2 separate regions of the Homo sapiens genome follow, and region 1 is linked to region 2. Evidence: promoter capture Hi-C in human tissues and cell types (Jung and others, 2019). All regions are on one chromosome and are shown on one strand. Each heading gives the region's core, a stretch centred on a gene start or on the middle of the fragment in contact. The rest is flanking DNA. Distances are from core to core; before and after follow the strand shown.

What was found. The method cuts DNA at HindIII sites, captures the fragments that hold promoters and counts their contacts. A contact is called where the count stands out against the background at its distance.
Region 1: a fragment that was not itself captured here is called in contact with the fragment with the promoter of THBS2 in region 2 in 2 of the 25 tissues and cell types used here (aorta and bladder).

The regions. Positions count from the first base shown.
Region 1 is chr6:169,350,442-169,355,770 of GRCh38, forward strand. No RefSeq gene overlaps it. Among named protein-coding and RNA genes, the nearest start is that of LINC02519, 35 kb to the right of the region's middle. The HindIII fragment of the contact is 4,542 bases long and covers 747-5,288 here.
Region 2 is chr6:169,250,549-169,256,062 of GRCh38, forward strand. It overlaps THBS2 (thrombospondin 2), which reads right to left and starts at 3,298. Exons shown (of 22, transcript NM_003247.5): 1 at 3,176-3,298; 2 at 185-258. The coding sequence starts at 236. RefSeq lists enhancers at 834-1,347, 1,860-2,372, 2,373-2,884. The HindIII fragment of the contact is 15,923 bases long and covers 1-5,514 here.

The sequences.
Region 1 (5,329 bases), core at 1,768-4,267, 100 kb after region 2:
GGAAGGAATGGTACCAGCTCCTCTTTGTACCTCTGGTAGAATTCAGCTGTGAATCCATCTGGTCCTGGGCTTTTTTGGGTTGGTAGGCTATTAATTACTGCCTCAATTTCAGAACTTGTTATTCATCTATTCAGGGATTCGACTTCTTCCTGGTTTAGTCTTGGGAGGGTGTATGTATCCAGGAATTTATCCATTTCTTCTAGATTTTCCAGTTTATTTGCATAGAGGTGTTTATAGTATTCTCTGATGGTAGTTTGTATTTCTGTGGGATCAGTGGTGATCTCCCCTTTATCATTTTTTATTGTGTCAATTTGAGTCTTCTCTCCCTTCTTCCTTATTAGTCTGGCTAGCGTTCTATCTATTTTGTTAATCTTTTCAAAAAACCAGCTCCTCGATTCATTGATTTTTTTGAAGGGTTTTTCATGTCTCTATCTCCTTCAGTTCTGCTCTGATCTTAGTTATTTCTTGTCTTCTGCTAGCTTTTGAATTTGTTTGCTCTAACTTCTATAGTTGTTTTAATTGTGATGTTAGGGTGTCGATTTTATATCTTTCTCACTTTCCCTTGTGGGCATTTAGTGCTATAAATTTCCCTCTAAACACTGCTTTAACTGTGTCCCACAGATTCTGGTACATTGTGTCTTTGTTTCAAAGATCTTCTTTATTTCTGCCCTTATTTCGTTATTTACCCAGTAGTCATTCATGAGCAAGTTGTTTAGTTTCCATGTAGTTGTGTGGTTTTGAGTGAGTTTCTTAATCCTGAGTTCTAATTTGATTGCACTGTGGTCTGAGGCAATGTTTGTTATGATTTCCATTATTTTGCATTTGCTGAGGAGTGTTTTACTTCCAATTATGTGGTCAATTTTAGAATAAGTGAAATGTGGTGCTCAGAAGAATGTATATCTGTTGATTTGGGGTGGAGAGTTATGTAGATGTCTATTAGGTCCACTTGGTCCAGAGCTGAGTTCACTTCCTAAATATCTTTGTTAATTTTCTGTCTTGTTGATCTGTCTAATATTGACAGTAGGGTGTTAAAGTCTCCCAGTATTATTGTGTGGGAATCTAAGTCTCTTTGTAGGTCTCTAAGAACTTGCTTTATGAATCTGGGTGCTCATGTATTGGATGCATATATATTTATTATAGTTAGCTCTTCATGTTGCATTGATCCCTTTACCAATATATAATGCCCTTCTTTGTCTTTTTTGATCTTTGTTGGTTTAAAGTCTGTTTTATCAGAGACTAGGATTACAACCCCTGCTTTTTTTGCTTTCCATTTGCTTGGTAAATATTCCTCCACACCTTCATTTTGAGCCTATGTGTGTCTTTGCCCATGAGATGGGTCTCCTGAATCCAGCACACTGATGGGTCTTGACTCTTTATCCAATTTGCCAGTCTGTGTCTTTTAATTGGGGCATTCAGCCCATTTACATTTAAGGTTAATATTGTTATGTGTGAATTTGATCCTGTCATTATGATGCTAGCTGGTTATTTTGCCCATTAGTTGATGCAGTTTCTTCATAGTGTTGATGGTCTTTACAATTTGGTATATTTTTGCAGTGCCTGGTACTGTTTTTTCCTTTCCATATTTAGTGCTTTCTTCAGGAGCTCTTGTAAGGCAGGCCTGGTGGGGACAAAATCTCTCAGGAATTGCTTGTATATAAAGGATTTCATTTCTCCTTCACTTATGAAGCTTAGTTTGGCTGGATATGAAATTCTGGGTTGAAAATTCTTTTCTTTAAGAATGTTGAATATTGGCCCCCACTCTCTTCTGGATTGTAGGGTTTCTGCAGAGAGATCTGCTGTTAGTCTGATGGGCTTCCCTTTGTGGGTAACCTGATCTTTCTCTCTGGCTGCCCTTAACATTTTTCTCCTTCATTTCAACCTTGGTGAATCAGACGATTATGTGTCTTGGGGTTGCTCTTCTCAAGGAGTATCTTTGTGGTGTTCTCTGTATTTCCTGAACTTGAATGTGGGCCTGTCTTGCTAGGCTGGGGAAGTTCTCCTAGATAATATCCTGAAGAGTGTTTTCCAACTTGGTTCCATTCTCCCCATCACTTTCTGGTATACCAATCAAACGTAGGTTTGGTCTTTTCACATAGTCCCATATTTCTTAGAGGCTTTGTTCATTCCTTTTTATTCTTTTTTCTCTAATCTTGTCTTCACACCTTATTTCATTAAGTTGATCTTCAATCTCTGATATCCTTTCTTTTGCTAGATCGATTCAGCTATTGATACTTGTGTATGCTTCATGAAGTTCTTGGGCTGTGTTTTTCAGCTCCATCAGGTCATTTATGTTCTTCTCTAAACTGGTTATTCTAGTTAGCAATTCCTCTTTTTTCAAGGTTTTTGGCTTCCTTTCATTGGGTTAGAACATGCTCCTTTAGCTCAGAGGAGTTTGTTATTACCCACCTTCTGAAGCCTACTTCTATCAGTTTGTCAAACTCATTCTCTGTCCAGTTTTGTTCCTTTGCCGACAAGGAGGTGTGATCCTTTGGAGGAGAAGAGGTGTCCTGGTTTTTGGAATTTTCAGCCTTTTTGCACTGGCTTTTCCTCATCTTTGTGTATTTATCTACCTTTGGTCTTTGATGTTGGTTACCTTCAGATGGGGTTTTTGTGTGGACGCCCTTTTTGTTGATGTCAATGCAATTCTTTTCTGTTTATTAGTTTTCCTTCTCACAGTCAGGCCCCTCTACTGCAGGTCTGCTGGAGTTTGATGGAGGTCCACTCCAGACCCTGTTTTTTGCCTGGGTATCACCAGCGGAGGTTGCAGAAGAGCAAAGATTGCTGCCTGTTCCTTCCTCTGGAAGCTTTGTCCCAGCAGGACACCCACCAAATGCCAGCTGGAGCTCTCCTGTATGAGGTGTCTGTTGAGCCCTGCTGGGAGGTGTCTCCCAGTCAGGAGGCACAGGGGTCAGGGACTCACCTAAGGAGGCAGCCTGTCCCTTAGCAGAGCTCGAGCGCTGTGCTTAGAGATCCGCTGCTGTCTTCAGAGCTGGCAGACAGGAATGGTTAAGTCTGCTGAAGCTGTGCCCAGAGCTGCCCCTTCCCCCAGGTGCTCTGTCCCAGATAAGCCCCTGACTGGGGCTGCTGCCTTTCTTTCAGAGATGCCCTGCCCAGAGAGGAGGAATCTAGAGAGGCAGTCTGGCTACAGCGGCTTTCCTGAGCTGCAGTGGGCTCTGCCCAACTCAAACTTCTTAGCAGCGTTGTTTACACCATGAGGGAAAAACTGCCTCCTCAAGCCTCAGTAATGGCAGACGCCGCTCCCCCCAAGAAGCTCAAGAGTCCCAGGTCAACTTCAGACAGCTGTGTTGGCAGGGAGAATTTCAAGCTAGTAGATCTTAGCTTGCTGGGCTCTGTGGGGGTGGGATCTGCTGAGCTAGACCACTTGGCTCCGTGGCTTCAGCGCCCATTCCAGGGGAGCAAATGGTTCTGTCTTGCTGGCTTTCCAGGAGCCACTGGGGTATGAAAAAAAATTCTTGCAGCTAGCTCAGTGTCTCCCCAAACAGCCGCTCAGTTTTGTGCTTGAAACCCAGGACGTTGGTGGTGTAGACACATGAGGGAGTCTCCTAGTCTGCAGATTGTGAAGACCGTGGGAAAAGCATAGTATCTGGGCTGGAATGCACCATTCCTCATGGCACAGTCCCTTACCGCTTCCCTTGGCTAAGGGAGGGAGTTCCCCGACTCCTTGCATTTCCCGGGTGAAGCGACACCCCACCCTCCTTCAGCTCACCCTCCGTGGGCTGTACCCACTGTCTAACTAGCCCCAGTGAGATAAGCCAGGTACCTCAGTTGGAAATGCAGAAATTGCCTGCCTTCTGCATTGATGTTACTGGGAGCTGCAGACTGGAGCTCTTCCTATACAGCCATCTTGCCAGCCACCTCAATTTTTATAATTTTTAACAGAAGTGAGATCCCAGGTTTTGCGGGCTTAAATGTTGTACAACTTGGAGAACTCTCTATGAAAATTGCATGCATAAAATTATAAAGAGTTGAGAACATTTATTTAGAGTAAGAAAATAATTTATGATAAATTAAATATTTTAAATATGATAGTTACCACAGGCATCACAAAATTCAAGAAAATAGCATTTTTAAAAATTGTTAAAGTGCACAGCACACCTTTATAATACTTTAACTTCAGTTTTTGGCTACATTTTGTTTTCTTATTTCTTCATAAATGACCATAAGGTCATGCAACTTTGTACCATGATATTGGGGGAACCCAGCCCCCAATATTTCAACATAGGTTCTTTCTATTTTCCATAAGTGTTAGTGGGCTGAGAAATAAAGACAGACCGTACAAAGAGAGGAATTTTACAGCTGGGCTGCCGGGGGTGACATCACATATCGGTAGGACCATGATGCCCACCTGAGCCTCAAACCAGCAAGTTTTTATGAAGGGTTTCAAAAGGGGAGGGGTGTAAGAACAGGGAGTAGGTACAAAGATCACATGCTTCAAAGGGCAAAAAGCAGAACTACTAATAAGGGTCTAACGAAGATCACATGCTTCTGAGGGAACAGGACAAAGGGCAAAAGCAGAATTACTGATAAGGATCCAACAAAGATCGTAAGGCAAAGGGCAAAAGCAGAACTACTGATAAGGGTCCAACAAAGATCACAAGGGAAAGGGCAAAAGCAGAACCACTGATAAGGGTCTATGTTCAGCGGTGCACATATTGTCTTGATAAACATCTTAAACAACAGAAAACAGGTTTCGAGAGCAGAGAACCAGTCTGACCACAAATTTACTAGGGCTGAGTTTTTCCCCACCCTAGTAAGCCTGAGGGTTCTGCAGGAGACCAGGGCATATCTCAGTCCTTATCTCAACTGCACAAGACAGATATTTCCCAGAGCAGCCATTTATAGACCTCCCCACAGGAATGCATTCCTTTCCCAGGGTATTAATATTAATATTCCTTGTTAGGAAAAGAATTTAGCAATATCTCTCCTGCTTGCACATCCATTTATGGGCTCTCTGCAAGGAGAAAAATATGGCTATTTTTGCCCAACCCCGCAGGCAGTCAGACCTTATGGTTGTCTTCCTCTGTTCCCTAAAAATCGCTGTTATTCTGTTCTTTTTCAAGGTGCACTGATTTCATATTGTTCAAACACACATGTTTTATAATCAATTTGTACAGGTAACACAATTATCACAGTGGTCCTGAGGTGACCTACATCCTCAGCTTACAAAGATAACAGGATTAATAGACTGAAGTAAAGACAGGCATAAGAAATTATAAAAGTATTATTTGGGAACTGATAAATGTCCATATTAAAATGAAATCTTCACAATTTATGTTCCTCTGCCGCGGCTCCAGCCAGTCCCTCCATT
Region 2 (5,514 bases), core at 2,048-4,547:
CCAAAGATAAATTATCTCATGTCATATTGGCTCAGAAGTAAGTTACTATTTGATTTATAAAGGAGCTAGAAGGTCCTCACGGGTAAGATTGTCCAACCACACACTTTATTTTGTCATCTCTCCCCTTGCAGCTAAGCCATATCTCACAAGCCAGAGAGAGACCACAGGCTCTGAGGACACTCACCTTGCGTGCTGGGCCACACCCACAGAGCCAGCAGGACCAGCCTCCAGACCATCCTGCCTCCTGCAGCTGAGCTCCTGGGAATACAGGAAACCCTTGTTAGTGATGAGTCCACAGCTGCAACCCTGCCTGTGAGCGAGACTGGCCCAGTGACTCACATGACCATTGAATAACAGTTTGCATATAAAACTCAGCACCAACTGGATTTGTGGCAAACTGAGAGCGAAGGAGGAAATTTACTCTTCAAGCAGGATTCTTCTAACTATAAGATTTGTTGAGCTAGCATTTGCCGGCAAGCACTGCACATCACGTTCTAAATATTCCTATTATTTCATCTTCATAATAGCCTGGGAGGTATGTGCTGCTCTAATTGTCCTCATTTTACAGATGAGCAAATGGAAGATGGGCAAGTTCAGCGCTTGCCTGGAGTAATTCTGTTCATACGACTCGTAGACAGGACTTAGATGTAGAAAGTTTGAATTTAGAAAAATATCCAGCCTGACAAAAATAATCTGTGAACGCATTTTGTGTAAATATCCAGCAAAAAACAGTTATGCATAACCTAATTAAATAGAATGAATATCAACTGTAAAAAAAAGTTACAAATAAACTTAATTTGGTGAATTATACTTACAAAACAACAGAACACTTGACTTAGCCATCATTTTGACCCTGCCTCTTTATTTTCCTGCAGGCCTGTTTTTCCATTCTTGGGGATTTTAAGTTGGCACAGCTCAGTGGAGGCTGGCCCCGAAGTCAGGAGATGTGGTCCAAAGCCCGGCTGGGCGATTAACCCTGTGGATCTCAGCTTCTCCTCTTCCGGGCGAGCATGAGCCTGAGGGTCCCAGGGCTCCCCAGGTCCCTTCCAGCAATTGGTCACACCCTGCTCTAGGTTGAAGGGAAGACTGAGACCCCAATTCTTCCCATATTTAGAATATCAAAGGCCGTTAACTTCTCATTGTTAATCCAAGGACTCTCCCTCTCCAGAAACAACATTTGGTAACCTGGAAATCCTCACCTTCCAGGAATAGAGAAACATTCCTCAGAAGAAGAGAAATGCTTGGCAGCACCTGCAGACCCCCCACCCATCTGCTGCTGGGACCCCCCCCCCAAACCATCTGCTCCCCCCAGTGCCGCCCCAGGGGTCCTTGGTGATTGTTTCATCTGTCCTGGCTCCGGAAGCAGCACGGCCTGCGGCCGGAGTCAGCACCAGGCTGAGCAATGCTGAGCACCAGCTGTGCAACCTAGGGAAACTTACTTAACTTCTCTGTCTCAGTTTCCTCATCCGTAGAATGAAACGTAGCGTCATGTAAAATGCCCACCTCATCGGGTTGTCATGAGAGATGAATTCGGCAAATGAAACTTCACCAGGGGCTGACTTAGCCCAGCGAGCCACAGGCATGGGTTACCGGAGCAGAATGTGCCTCTGGGTCTGGGGCGCTTTCTACTCTAACTGCCCGAGGCAGCTGCAGTAATAATGGTGGTGCTGATAGGGCCTTTCTATGGAGCTCTTAAGAGGGTTTAATGACAGGAGCGAACACTTGGCCATGAGCTTAGAACAGTACCTGCATGCAGTAAGCACCACAGAACGGTGTTAGAATACACAGCTCAGGTACAGCCTTGGCAGGCTCTTCCCACCTCCCCACCTCATCAGCCCACACTGCCGGGTACGTCGCAGTCCCCTAAGGACAGCTGTGTGGGGCTGGCCCTGCAGAGGCCAGCCAAGAACAGGATGGTAAATGCGAAAGTTCTGGATGCCCAGCTTCATAAGGACAGGTTAGAAAAACTAAATCAAACTCCTTTGACGAAACCAGATCCTACTGTCTCTGCCTTGAGGTAGATTCTTACAAGAGCAGGAGGCTAACAAAGCATCCCCTGCTGCGGATTGTCAAAGGACAGTGAGGCTCCATCCCACAGGAAGGATGAGCAGCCAGGCTACCTGGCCTCAGCCCATCCAGGGACACCGGGCATGCATGGATGGAGCCACGGATGAGCCAGTGCCGCTCACCCCTGCCCCAGCCTCTGCACGCCACACATCCACGTTTATGCTTGTGTTTTTCCAAAAGAAAGATTTCGGTGCCTGTCTGCAGCAGAATGTAGTTTGAATTTGCAAAGGTCTTTTAAAACTCTTTTCGTATGAACAATCAAAGTAAAAGATAGCTTTGCAGAGAGCTAATTGTTTACCGGCCGTCCACCACCAACAGCAGTCTGATTAAACACCAGACTCCTGGGTGCTCAGCTCCCAGTCCTGGGCAGCCAAACCCACCTTCCTTAAGTGGTAGCCAGGCAACCTGCCAGCTCGCTTTTCATATGCAAACTGCCCCAAGACTGTTAAAAGTCGCTGTGTGTCCCGGCAGTCACAGGATTTTCCATAGACTTACCACAAATACTCTCTAGTTATGTTCAAAACCACTTTTCAGCTGCTAATAATGTTAACAATCAGAGTCTCTCTTTAATCTACTAATAATGTTAACAATCAGAGTCTCTCTTTAATCTACTAATAATGTTAACGATCAGAGTCTCTCTCTAATCTACTAATAATGATGTTAACAATCAGAGTCTCTCTCTAATCTCCAGTTACTTTTCAGATATTCCGGGAGTTGTTTCTAATTCTCTCCTCAATAACAAACTCTCATGTGGAATCTTCTTCTTCGGAAACTGAAAACATAAAGCGTTTACCCGGGTTCCCAGGCAGGTATATACATTGAAATAGCAGCAGCCACAACCCTCAGAGAGGAAGGGGTGCCCGGCTGGTGAAAGCACAGCCACGGAGGAAAAGCTGAGGAGCGGCCACGTGCCTTGCTCTTCAAGCGGGCAGTAGAAACACCACGTGAAGAAACACTTGCCATTTAGTGTTAATAGATACACCACCCACCTTAAGTTAAGAATCGAAATTGCTCCTTTTTCTTCTCCGCTTCTTAGAGTTCGAGAACTCTAATTTCTTAAAATTAGAGCACCATTAAATAATTGATTGAGTTTAAGAAATAATCGTACCTGGTTTGCCAAAAAGATGCAGTGATGACTGGTTTCAGTGTTCCGGACCGAGTCAGAAAGGCGCAGGCTCTGCTGGAGCGAGAGACCGGCCCTGCAGTGCAGGATGCTCCGGTGGACGTGGCCGAGCGGCTCCCGGGCAGCGCGGCTTTATATGCCGCTTCTCCTGTGCAGGGCTGTCAATCAGACACACGAGGAAGCACGTTTAATTCATTCCTTCGAAGGAATGACATCATCCCCCTTCTGATCTCACCATTTGCTCCGAGTACCTGCTGCAGGGGTCCAAGTCCAGCCCCTCTGTACTGGATGCCGTCTCCTCCTCCTGCACCCCGGCCCCTGCCAGACAGGCCTGGGAGGAGCCAGACGGAGAGAGGGAAGGCAGGGACTCACTTTTCCTGTCTTCTCTCAGGAAATAAGATGCTATAAATAACACTAGCAAGATTGGCTAGAACTCCTCATTTTGCTTAAGAGAAAAAAATGCAAGTTCTATGCCTTAAATATGTTTCGAATTACTCAATGTGATATTGGTCTTTCTAAACCAAATGAGTGACTCTCAATAACACATGAAATACATCGGTGAGTATCAATAATCAGTCTGTATATTAATAAAGTTATTATGGTCAATAATCAAGTGTATTATGTGACAAAAATGAAATTTAATATAAAAGGAAGTTGCCAACATTTATCTCAGGCAGTTAGAGGACTGAAAAGCTGTACTGCAGCTTTGGGAAAATTCATTTTTACCCAAATTCTGCTTCATTTGCTCAGTGAGGATCCCCTAGAAGGACGTCTCCCAGTGGACGTGCAATACCCGTAGAAGGGTGTGTCCCAGTGGACGTACAGTACCCGGCCAAGTCCCCTTGGTGCACACTTGCACGTGGCCCCATCACAGGAACAACCTGACGTGCAGGCACAGAGCAAGGACTCGAGAGAACGAGAAGCAGTGGCAGCAGCTAACCCCCGCCCCTCCCACACCTCAGGCATCACCCGCAATCAGGGTGCACTCTGCATGGGGGTGGGGGGCACCGCTTCTCAGAGGTCAGGGTGGACGATGGATGCGGAGGGGCTGCTTCTCCCAGGTCAGGGTATACAGTGGAAAGGGGAAGCTGCTGCTCTAAGGTGGGGGTTGATGGTACATGGGGGAGGGGCTGCTTCTCCCAAGTTGGGCTGGACAGTGGATGGGGGAGGTGCCACTTCTCCCAGGCCAGTGTGAAAGGTGGATGGTGGAGAGGCTGTTTCTCCCAGGTCAGTGTGCAAGGTGGCTGGGGATGTGTTGTTTCTCCCAGGTCAGGGTTAATGGCAGACAGGGGAGCTGCTGCTTCTCCTGGGTTGGGGTGGACCTTGGATGGGGGAGGTGCTACTTCCCCAGGTGGGGTGGATGGTGACTGGGGAGCTGCTGCTTTGCCCGGAGCCACCTGCACCTGCTTCATGTCGGCACCTGCCTGTCAGGTTCCTTCACGTTTGTGTGGAGTTGTCAGCCTGGCCATGGATCCGTCAAGTCCTAGTTAGAGAACATTAAAGCGAATTTCTGTGGACACAACCCTTACTGTGTCTGTGGCAGGGGAGTGTCTCTTAAGCCTCCTGGCATTCCCCCACAGGGGTCCAGCGCTGCAGAGGTCGGCAGGCACCATGAAGAGCAAGCCTCACTTTCTGGCCTCTGTCTTCAGGGAGGATATGCGAGCGGGTGTGGGAGAGGGAAGGAGCTTTCATTTGTGAAAACCTCTGTTTTTCCTAATGGCACCTGTTTATTTATCACTTGGCAAACATCAGTTTCCGACACATGCACAGACAAAAGCCTCCAAGAGTGTATGTGTCATGTTTAAGGTACGTTATTTTGCTTTTTAAGCTATTAGGGACAAAGTCATCATTTGAATTAAAAAGTAGTTTAAATAGATTGATGTTATCTCAAATTCAAAAAAAGTATAAACCAGTTCCCCTTAAAGAATTTTCAGTGGATAATTATCCATTCATCAGTTTGAGTTTTTCTGCCTCCAGGTTAGTTTTTCCTGGGGCCAGAACATGGAGGGCGGCATCCCCTACTCTGCGTGCCACGGCCTCTCCTGTTCCTCAGTCCACAGAATGCGTGTTTCCTGATTAAAGCTGAAGACAGGCAGCTCAGCTGCTCAGCACTTCAGGAGCATGCGGTGAAGACCGTGACACTCACTGGGGAGCAGGAAGGTATGTATTCATGACTCCACGTGCCGATGGGCAGGTACAGAGAAGATGGGCCTCCTTCTGTAAAATCTGGCAGCCCAGAATCAGGGAAGTCTGTTTAGAGGAGACAGAAGGTAAGCCGATTGGAACATGGCCCGTGAATGGGGTGTCCCCAGTTGAGAAAGTAT